Linked DNA regions of Homo sapiens: region 1 is linked to region 2. The links are contacts of gene promoters, found by promoter capture Hi-C in blood cells and fetal thymus (Javierre and others, 2016). All regions are on one chromosome and are shown on one strand. The core of a region is centred on a gene start or on the middle of the fragment in contact, and the rest is flanking DNA. Distances in the headings are between cores, read along the strand shown. Region 1 overlaps CCNB2 (cyclin B2). Region 2 holds the start of GTF2A2 (general transcription factor IIA subunit 2).

Region 1 (5,669 bases), core at 2,485-4,984, 530 kb before region 2:
AGAGCAAAACCCTGTCTCCAAAAAAAAAAAAAAAAACAAATCTGTAACCTGAACACAGCATTCTGACTGTGCATCCTTAGTGGGATTTAAAGTATGACAAAATAAAGGACTAAAGTGGTAACATCAAGTTTACTTAGTAGGTTCATTGTTAATAGTAATCTGTTATTATAATTTTGGAACTAGTTTATGTGTATTGTAGGATAAAACAAATTTATTCATGTTATTAAGGACTAAAATTTTCAATATAGGAAGAGTTTTAAATTATTAATTCATTAATTTTTTCTTATACAGGGTCTTGCTTTGTCATCCAGGCTGGAGTGCAGTGCTGCTGTCACAGCTCACTGCAGCCTCAATTGCCTGGGCTCAAGTGATCCTCCCACTTCAGCCTCCCACGTAACTGGGACCCAGCCACACGCCATCATGCCTGGCTAATTTTAAAGTTTTTTTGTAGAGATTAGCTCTCCCTGTGTTGCCCAGGCTGGTCTCGAACTCCTAGGCTCAAGTGATCTTCTCGCCTTGGCCTCCCAAAGTGCTGGGATTACAGACGTGAGCCACTGTGCCTGGCCTAAGAGAGAAAATATTAACAATTAAAAACAAAAGGTTAGTCCTCACGTAGGAAATAGCAAAACAAAAACAAAGGAAAACCCCTATTATGTTTTGGAAATAACAGCAAATTCATAATAAAGGGTCTCAGAAACAGTGACAACTCAGTAGTAGTGAGCATATTTAGTGCCCACATCTTGGATACTAAATACCATTATCTACTGGCAACTAGGGCTGTTTAGTGAAATTGCTGATTTCAGGGCTATGGCAGGGGAAGTACAAGGTGAGCCTAGAACAATTTGTGCCAGATAGCACACAAATTCTCAAAGATCAATGAGGTCACATCAAAAGGACATAGGAGAGCTGGTCATGGTAGCATGTGCCTATAGTCCCAGATACTCAGGAGGCTGAGGCAGGATCCCTTGAGCCCAGGAGTTGGAGGCTGCATTGACCTATGATTGCACCACAATAAAATAGGAAGGAAGGGAAGGAGGGAGATAGGAACTGGCTTGAAAGGACTCTGGCTGACTGAATTAGAGCATTAAAAAGAATAATGACAGTAATAGATTATAGTGTATAAAAAAAAGGATTCCTGGGACCATAATGACATAAAAAATAAAAGAGGGGTTCATTTTTAAAAATCAGAATACCAGCTAATTAAAGTAGAATGATAGAGTTAGAAACCACTAATTTTCAACCTGTAATGTAATAATTTATTCAAGCAAGGTGCATCAATGAATGCAAAAATCATTAGATGGAATAATTTTGGGAAACAAGATTCACGTGGTCTCAATTTATCATCCCATAGATACTTATTAATTCTGTAACAAAACTGCACATCTATGATGAAGTGGTCTGGTGGTTTCCACCTTCACCCAGTGATTAAGCTCAGCATTACCACTGGCAGACGACCTGAGTTGCCATGCCGTGTTGTGCAGTAAGATGTATACATTATCACCTATTCATGCCCAAAATGTTTGACATGAATTAAATCTTGAGGAAATATGCAAATCCAGAATGTGAGACATTTTAAAAGGAACTGCCTCGATGCTTAAAAAAAAAAAGTCACTGGTGACAGTGTTTCTTATGTGAGAATGGTGTTATGGATAGGTACGAAAACGTACTTTTTAGAATATGCTTCTGAAACATTTAGCAGGGATGTGCTGTGATATCTGCAAATCGCTTTCAAATGGCATAGCAAAAATTGTGTGTGAGTATACACAGAGAGGGAGAGGAGGGAAACGTGGCACATGTTCATGATTGATCAGTCTACATGAAGGATATATAGAGGATCATTCTTTCAGTTTTTCTGTAGATTTGGAATTTTTTGAAATAAATAAAACATTTGAGGCAAAAATGTCACTGGTACATGGTACCAATGGCTCATTTTTAGTCACCTTACTCTTAAATGTGCTTCGCTCTCCCAGTTTTCTGAGAATTTATTTCAAAAGGCTAGAAATTGTGCATTATTTCAGTTTTTACTCGTTTCCTCTTTCTTCCCTTCAAAGTATTTTAGGATTAAATTGTGTAGACTGGGCACAGTGGCTCACACCTGTAGTTTCAGCAGTTTTGGAGGCTGAGGCAGACAGATTGCTTGAGCCCAGCAGTTTGAGACCAGCTGGGCAACATGGCGAAACCTCGCCTCCACAAAAAAACAGAGAAACTGGCTGGGCGCAGTGGCTCATGCCTGTAGTCCCAGCACTTTGGGAGGCTGAGGCGGGTGGATCACTTGAGGCCAGGAGTTTGAGACCAGCCTAGCCAACATGGTAAAACTCTGTCTCTATTAAAAATACAAAAATTAGCTGGGCGTGGTGGCACATGCCTGTAGTCTCAGCTACCCAGGAGGCTGAGACACGAGAATTGCCTAAACCCGGAAGGTAGACGTTGCAGTGAGCAGACATTGCACCACTGCACTCCAGCCTGGGCGACAGAATGAGACTCTGTCTCAAAAAAAAAAAAAAAAAAAAAAAAAAAAAAGGAGAAATTACCCAGGCATGGTGGCATACACCTATAGTTTCAGCTACTAGGGAGGTTGAGGTGGGAGGATCACTTGAGCCCAGGATGTCACGGCTGCAGTGAGCTTTGATAGTGCCACTGCACTCCAGCCTGGGCAACAGAGTTGAGACCCGGTCTTCAAAGAAAAAAAGAGATTAAATTGTGGTTTATTTTGCCAATTATACCATGCATATGAAAAAAACGTACTTTCGCTTTTAGAATTTTTGTCACAGAACTCTTAAATAAAGTCAGTTGACATATCTTTTTTTTTTTTTTTTTTTTTTTTTGAGACAGAGTCTTTCTCTGTCACCCAGACTGGAGTGCAGTGGTGCGATCTCAGCTCACTGCAGCCTCTGCCTCCCGGGTTCCAGCGATTCTCCTGCCTCAGGCGCACACCACCATGCCCGGGGAATTTATGTATTTTTAGTAGAGATGGGGTTTCACCATGTTGGTCAGGCTGGTCTCGAACTCCTGACCTCAGGTGATCCGCCCACCTCGGCCTCCCAAAGTGTTGGGATTACAGGCGTGAGCCACTGCGCCTGGCCTTTTTTTTTTTTCTTTTTTTTTCTTTTTTTTTTGAGACAGGGTCTCACTGTGTTGCCCAGGCTGGAGTGCAATGGCGTTAATATCGCTCATTACCTCAAACTTCTGGGCTCAAGCAATCCTTCCTCCTCAGCTCCTCAAGTAACTGGGACTATAGGTGTACACCACCAAGCTTGGCTAATTTTTCATTTTTCATAGAGATAGGGTCTCCCAATGTTACCCAAGCTGGTCTGAAACTCTTAAGCTCAAGCGATCTTCTTGCCTTGGCCTCCGAAAGTGCTGGGATTATAGGCGTGAGCCACTGTGCCCCGCCAATTTATATATCTTCTTACATGATACATCTTATTATCAATTGACAGCTGTTCTTTTACTTGAATTTTACTCTTTGGGAGGCTAGGTCACAAGGCTTGGTGTGGTAGTGTCTAAGTTCTCTCTGCTGTTTGGTGCTTAACTACACAGGGTTCAACAAGAGAATCATAGGTAGTCCTAGTTCTTCTGGATTTGATAGATTGTTGCTTGTAGCACAGTTTATTTCTTATTTCCGAACATCTTTCCCTGACTGACAGTATGTCTGTTTGGGCTCTTGAGCTCATAACAGGGACAGCTGGGCAGGGCTTTGATGCAGGGTTGTGTGAGATGTGGCCAGCACTGTAAAGGGGCACTTTGTTTTAAGTGTCTCCTTTTCCATCCCCTTTCAGTGTTGTTACTTGAAGGACTCTTACCTGTGCAACGTCTTTGAAAGATCGTATGGGACCTTTGGCACTTGATTTAGTCTGGTCTCAGGGCCAGAATCATCTTGCATTTACCAGCTGCTTTAGTGTTGCTGGTACTGTGAGAGTGGTTAGGGCTTTGATTGAATTTCCAGAAGGTAAGAATATTCTTGTACAGCTTTTACATAAGTAATGTCATCATGTACAAGATGTGTTCTTCTAAAGAAGCAGAGGTTTTCTCTTGCCCCTCAGTCATGTCTGTCTGTCTGCTTCTTGTGTTTCAGAACTTAAAGCAGCAGTATTACACAGGATACACAGAGAATGAAGTATTGGAAGTCATGCAGCACATGGCCAAGAATGTGGTGAAAGTAAATGAAAACTTAACTAAATTCATCGTAAGTACTACTGTTTTCTTAAGCTGTGGAAAGCTTTAGGTTCTGGGTTTTGTGTGTATGTTGGGCGGGGGGGGGCGGTGTGTGCCGTCATGTAAATATATTAATAACATGTGGGAGTTTTAGCACAAATCCTTTATCCTTTATATTTTTCTGGTACAGTATGGTATGGAGCATACTGATAAACCCTGAAAGCAAGCTTTATTTGAAACAAGGTCGATAGGCTAGCCATGTCCAGGCCCAGATCCCAGTCAACCAGTCGGTTACTCAATGTATTGAATTACTCTGTGCTTATACTAGCATCCTGGGGAGGGCACTTTGCAAGCAGGGAAGGCTGGTCTGCATGTGATTGGGAAGAGAGAGGGCCCACTTCAAATGGCGGTGTATTATATTGCGTATTCAGGTGATGTTACTCAGAGCCTTTGTCCAGGGTCTTTTGAGGCAATGATGGAAAAACGCCTAATTAGCAAGCATGGTTAAGAGGGAAGAGGCCCATTCAGGGGGCATCCTGAGGGCATGGTGTCTATCTCTGCATGGCCCACCTATGAGGAGGAGCCAAAGGAGACTTAGTGCTGTCCTGTGCTTGTGTGACACCAAACATCAGAGCTCACCAAGTGTGTGGTGGCAAAGAGCAAGGTATTTGAACCTCAGAAGAGTCTCAAGTGTCCTCACAACATGATTTGCTTCATGGAAGTGTAATATGTGTTCAGTCCTGAGAGGACTGTCTGGGATTTGTTAAGCACTAGTTGCCACCCTCTTTTATTGTCTTTTATTGTCTTTTAATTGTTCCTATTGCTGCCAGGCCTGGTGAACCTGTTATGTCCTGATGGCACTTAGGTGTCGTAAACACAGCTCCCCCTCCCATCCCTCTGGTAGCCTACAAGAGGAAGCCTGCTACTTGGACCTTGAAATCATTTGTTCCTATCACCTGTGCTACCAGCTGTGTTTTATTCATTAATGGGGATGGAAGGAAATGGTCAGGCACATGTTATGAGCCCAGAGCTTTCACTGGCTTCAGCGATTGGGCATCATCAATGTGATCATGATTGTAGCCGTGGACCTTTGATAATTGTGAGTTAGACTAGGAATAAGGTATCATTGGGGGTTCCTGACATGTGCTTAATCACAAATGACTTCTGCAGGCCATCAAGAATAAGTATGCAAGCAGCAAACTCCTGAAGATCAGCATGATCCCTCAGCTGAACTCAAAAGCCGTCAAAGACCTTGCCTCCCCACTGATAGGAAGGTCCTAGGCTGCCGTGGCCCCTGGGGATGTGTGCTTCATTGTGCCCTTTTTCTTATTGGTTTAGAACTCTTGATTTTGTACATAGTCCTCTGGTCTATCTCATGAAACCTCTTCTCAGACCAGTTTTCTAAACATATATTGAGGAAAAATAAAGCGATTGGTTTTTCTTAAGGTATCCCATGTGTATTTATTTGTGTATTCTGTACTTAAGAAATCAGTGAAAGCTTGCTTTGACTAATT
Region 2 (5,062 bases), core at 716-3,215:
ACTGTTTGCTGGTTGATCCCGTTTTCGCTAAACTCTTAATATCACAGGACACAGTCCTTAGGCCTCTGCTGCTTTCCGTCTACACCCATTCCTTACGGATAACATTTATTCTCATGGTTTAAGTACCACTGCTGATGATCCCCAAATTCATATAGCATAGAACTTCTCACTCCTGAATCTAGCTGCCTACTCAACATCTCTATTTGTTATCTTTTGCATCGTGGCTTAAAGAACTCCATACTTCTACGAGCTTGGGCAAAACCTTTGATTTCATCCTCCACTCCCTCTATCTCACTCTCCATATCCAATTCCTAGCAAATACTGTAAGGCCTACCTTCAAAATGCATTCAGAATCCAACCACTTCTCACCATCCCTACGGTTATCACCCTGACCTGGGCCACTCTCGTCATCTGGATTACTGCAAAAATCTCCTAAATGATTTCCCTGCTTCTACACTCACCCCTACACTCTAATCACAACTCACAGCCAGGGTGATCTTCTAAAACTTCAGTTACAACATACCTCTCCTCTATTCAAAATCTCCCATGGCTTCTATCAGCCTTTACAATGATCCGGCTACCATGATCTCTTTGACTTTATCTTCTTGTCCCTCCACCCCCAAAACTCTTGCTCATCCCTCTCCAGATACACTGGCTTCCTTGCTATTCCTCAAACATGACAGGCCTAAAAGCATTTGTATTGGCTTTCCTATCTGCCTGAATGCTCTTCCTGATATTTACTTAGCAAATTTTCTTAATTCCTTCAAGTCTTTGCTCAAATAACACCTACTAAATGAGGCTCAAACTGACCACCGTCATCTTTAAAATACCAGTTCCCACCTCCACTCTGGAACTTTCCCGTACTCCTTTATATTTCTCTTTTTTTTTTTGATGGCACCATCACTTTCTAACACCATTATATATTTTATTTTCTGCATCCTCTAATAGAATGTAAGCTCCATGAGGGCAAAGCTTTTTATTTTGTTCACTTAAGTAAAATAGGCGTCTAGAACAGTACCTGGCACACAATAGGAGCCAAAAAAAAATCTGTTCAGTAAACGAAGGCAAATATCAGTAAGTATAATATGCGTGTGGGAGGGGAGAGGGGGTTAAAAAGGGCAAGAAGTCCCAATAGGTAGATAAAAACTCCACAGAGTAGGAATACAGAATCGTGCATCGTGTCCCATTTGACAAATTTTTGAGTTTATCTAGAAAATAGCCCTGCGTTAAACGTTTGTTAAAAGTGCTGATTTCAATGTTCTTACATTCTTTAAAAATTCCTTGTTAAGTGTTCTAATCTTTTAGATGTGGTATCAGCCACAGAAATTTATTGTTCCCTTCTTGTTTTGCAGTTCAGAAAATTAGAAGTCAAATTCGGAAGTAACTCGTCCTAGCATTTTTTGATTAAACCACCAAGTTTAAAATTCGTTCCTTTTGTCGGAGTTCGCACGAAGAAAGTTGGAAGGCAGACTTCAAACAACAAGCTACAAAGCACAGGAATGAGACATTTAAAAAATGCTCTCCGAAATTCGGCAAAACTCACAGGGCGCTAGTGGATGCTTTAAGACATTCACCTGGCTGAAAATACGGTGGTGGGCTGAAGACCTCCCCTAGGTGGGTTCTGTGGGCGCCCCGTGAACGACGAGCCTCCCGCCACGGGACGCGACCATCACCGCCGCCTCGCCGCCCTTCTCCGGTGCCGGCCGCGGGGCCTTGCCGGCAACGGTCGGTAACGGGCAGATCCCAGGAGCGAAGGGCCCTCAGAGACTACCCCACCAACGCACTCCGACTCCGGGGGGGCGGCAGGGAGCGCGGCCCTGCTTCCCTCCCTAACCCTGCCCTCCCTAACCCACTACCTGTGGGGAAGGCGCTTCCCTCCGCGGAGCGGACAGAAGCCGCCACGAGCCCGGCAGGAGGTTCCTACTTCTCCGACCACCTCTCCAGCCGCCGCAGAAACCGCAGAACTGAGCTGACGACCCGGAAGTGCTCGCGGAACCTGGAAGTGACACCCCGCCCGAGGGACGGGAGGCCCCGCCCAGCCCTGCTCTCGCCCGCCACTCAAGCCTTGTCAGGGAAGGGCGTGGAGAGGGAAGGAGGGGCGTCGGGCTGGAGCTTGAAGCCTTAAAGTGGTGGACAGGCGCTCTGCTCGAGTAATTCACCAGGTTTACTAAATCGTTCCTAAGGGAATTATAATTTTTAGAGACTAATCTTCTCCATTGTTAGATGCACAATTTAAGAAATGTAGGGCATTCATATTTCATGCCGGAAGTGTGTTCAGGGTAACAGTGTTGAAGACCTTGCAGACGAATTCTGAAAAGATTATAGCAGGGGCCGGGCGCGGTGGCGCACGCCTTAATCCCAGCACTTTGGGAGGCTGAGGCGGGTCGATCACCGGAGGTCAGGAGTTCGCGACCAGCATAATATGGTGAAATCCTGTCTCTACTAAATACAAAAAATTAGGCAGGCGTGGTGGCGCATGCCTGTAATTCGAGCTACTTGGGAGGCTGAGACAGGAGAATGGCTTGTACCTGGGAGGCGGAGGTTGCAGTCAGCTGAGATCGCGCCATTGCACTCCAGCCTGGGAAACAAGAGCGAAACTCCGTCTCAAAAAAAAAAAAAAAAAAAAAAATTATAGCAGGGTAAGCAGGGTATCTTCTTTACCCCTCGAAACAGGGCTGCAGGCAAAGTTTTTAGTTTGTGACCAGTTCATGAAGAACTTTAATTTGGGAGAAGTTATATTTAAAATTTGCATCTAATATGCAAGATAAATACTTCACTATAAATTTCAAGTTTGCAAAATCACAAATTGTTTTAGGTGTCAGGGTGCATGGTACACTAACTGGCTTAAACCCAGCAGTCATGTGTAGAGCAGTTTATCCTACAAAATAGCTGAATAGTGATTAAAGAGTATGTGCAAAACAACAACAACAAAACCACAAAAAACACCAAGTGGTATCAGCTGGAACCTCTGAGCAGGTCTATGAACTAAACAAGTTCTTCTTATTTAAGCCATGTTTTCGGCCAGGGGCGGTGGCTCATGCCTGTAATCCCAGCACTTTGGGAGGCCGAGGTGAGCGAATCACCTGAGGTCAGGAATTCGAGACCAGCCTCAACGTGGAGAAACCCCGTCTCTACTAAAATACAAAAAAAATTTCGCTGGGCGTGTTGGTGCATGCCTGTAATCCCAGCTACTCGGGAGGCGGAGGCAGGAGAATTGCTTGAACCTGGGAGGCGGAGGTTGCGGTGAGCCAAGATGGCGCCATTGCACTCCAGCCTGGGCAACAAGAGCGAAACTGTCTCAAAAAAAAAAAAAAAAAAAAAAAGCCATGTTTTCATTTTAAGCCACTCATGGTTTCATCCTTGGATTCCCCATTAATTAAAAAAAAATCTCAACTATGAAACACAAAGTTTCATTATTGTTTTGATGTTAAAATAAAGCAGGCTGAACTCTCTAATCCCCAAAGAATAGAAGCACTTAGACTATAGAAAGGGAAACAAGTGTAAAGGTCTGAAATTATTTAAGAGGTTTATAGGATAATTCAAAGCAAAAATTTAGTAGCATAATGAAAGAAAAATGTGATAAAAAGACAAAGACGAACGTTCCAATTAATTTATTTAAATTCATTAATGTTGCAAAAAATATGATGTGCAACAAATCAAGACACAAGTTATATTCCTAACAGGTCAAAGAAAATATTACATCTCCTTAGTAAATCATGACCAACTCTGGTATTTCTTACAGGGACCACATTAATATCTTGCACACACAGACATCAGAACTGAATTTCTGACAGTACTCGGCTGGGCAACATCATCTTAAGAGTAGGAAAATATCACAGTACATTAATTTTGTCTAAATGACAGCAATGAACCTGTGGTAACAAAAGTATTTTTGGAATAGATATCAAAGTGTGTTAATGTCTTAACAAACTCTGAATTGTGTTCTGTGTGAATAGTGCTCCAAGGGCTGTGCAAGTCAGTGGCCCTGAACATCATCAATATTTACTAGCTAGGTTTACACAAATAAACAAGCAACTGTTAAACGGACATTAAACTTTACAAAGTCCACATACAAAAAGTGCAGTGTAGAAGCTGATGAATGTTATTTTCCAAGTTCCTCCTTAGCCAAACTGCATAAAAATTTCAAAATGCAAATATTTTAACTTCTTGTTAAACATGATTCTAAGACATCCTACAAGCCTAGTATCATTAATTTGAAAGCACGAAATGATTTTCATTTGGTGCTTACGTGCTTTATGTGAATTTTTCATAGCATTTTACTTAGTTCTCAAAACATAAATAGGTCTATTATAAATAGTTGCAACATACTGTTATATTCAAATTTTAGTGTCACTCCTTACTGTTAAACATGCCAGACTACTTTATTTTCAATTATCCTTTAGAACTTCAAAGGAAAGTTACATAACTGGGTCTCACCATTGATCTGATTCTAAGTTCATTCAGAATTTCAAGAAGGGCAGAGGGGGATGCTTGCCAGGTAATTCTTTTGTATTAGCTTAGAACATTTGAGTAGATAATACCCCACTTCCCTCACCAGTTGGCCTTCCCATTCAAGTCTAAGTTCTTGACTCTTTCTCGCAGCAACTCAAACTACACAATTCCTATGACCTATAACAAGACCAGACCTATTTTAACAGCAAAATAGGTCTAACTTGTGAGTACATACATTAATGCCTCTTTTTACTCTATCCCTCTCAGATTTGTGGTCCATTTCTCAAATGTCCATATAGGATTGGAGAAAAAACAGGCATGAAAACAAAATAGAATGGTGTAGCAATCTCTATTTTCAGCCTATCTCCTACTCCCATTTGCTTGAGCAAGTTTAACACTTCTCCACATATAACATGGAAAAAGGAAGGATGAACCTACCGTAACATCTCTACCAATCTCATCAGGAAACTGGCCTGTTCTATCTGATATGTCCTAATGCTAATTTATCACTTGAAGAAATATAAAAAGCCACTTCTGTATAAAACACATGTCCAAATTCCCTGAGCATTCACATAAACAGCCAAATAGAAATGTTATATAGTCTTTTTAA

The links. The method cuts DNA at HindIII sites, captures the fragments that hold promoters and counts their contacts. A CHiCAGO score of 5 or more calls a contact.
Region 1: a fragment that was not itself captured here is called in contact with the fragment with the promoter of GTF2A2 in region 2 in 1 of 17 cell types (erythroblasts); the score reaches 5.4 in erythroblasts.

The regions. Positions count from the first base shown.
Region 1 is chr15:59,119,442-59,125,110 of GRCh38, forward strand. CCNB2 (cyclin B2) reads left to right here. Exons shown (of 9, transcript NM_004701.4): 8 at 4,076-4,186; 9 at 5,326-5,604. The coding sequence ends at 5,436. Among named protein-coding and RNA genes, the nearest start is that of CCNB2, 17 kb to the left of the region's middle. The HindIII fragment of the contact is 966 bases long and covers 3,252-4,217 here.
Region 2 is chr15:59,655,550-59,660,611 of GRCh38, forward strand. It overlaps GTF2A2 (general transcription factor IIA subunit 2), which reads right to left and starts at 1,966. Exons shown (of 5, transcript NM_004492.3): 1 at 1,857-1,966. It overlaps BNIP2 (BCL2 interacting protein 2), which reads right to left. Exons shown (of 10, transcript NM_004330.4): 10 at 3,597-5,062. RefSeq lists an enhancer at 1,773-2,002. The HindIII fragment of the contact is 4,994 bases long and covers 971-5,062 here.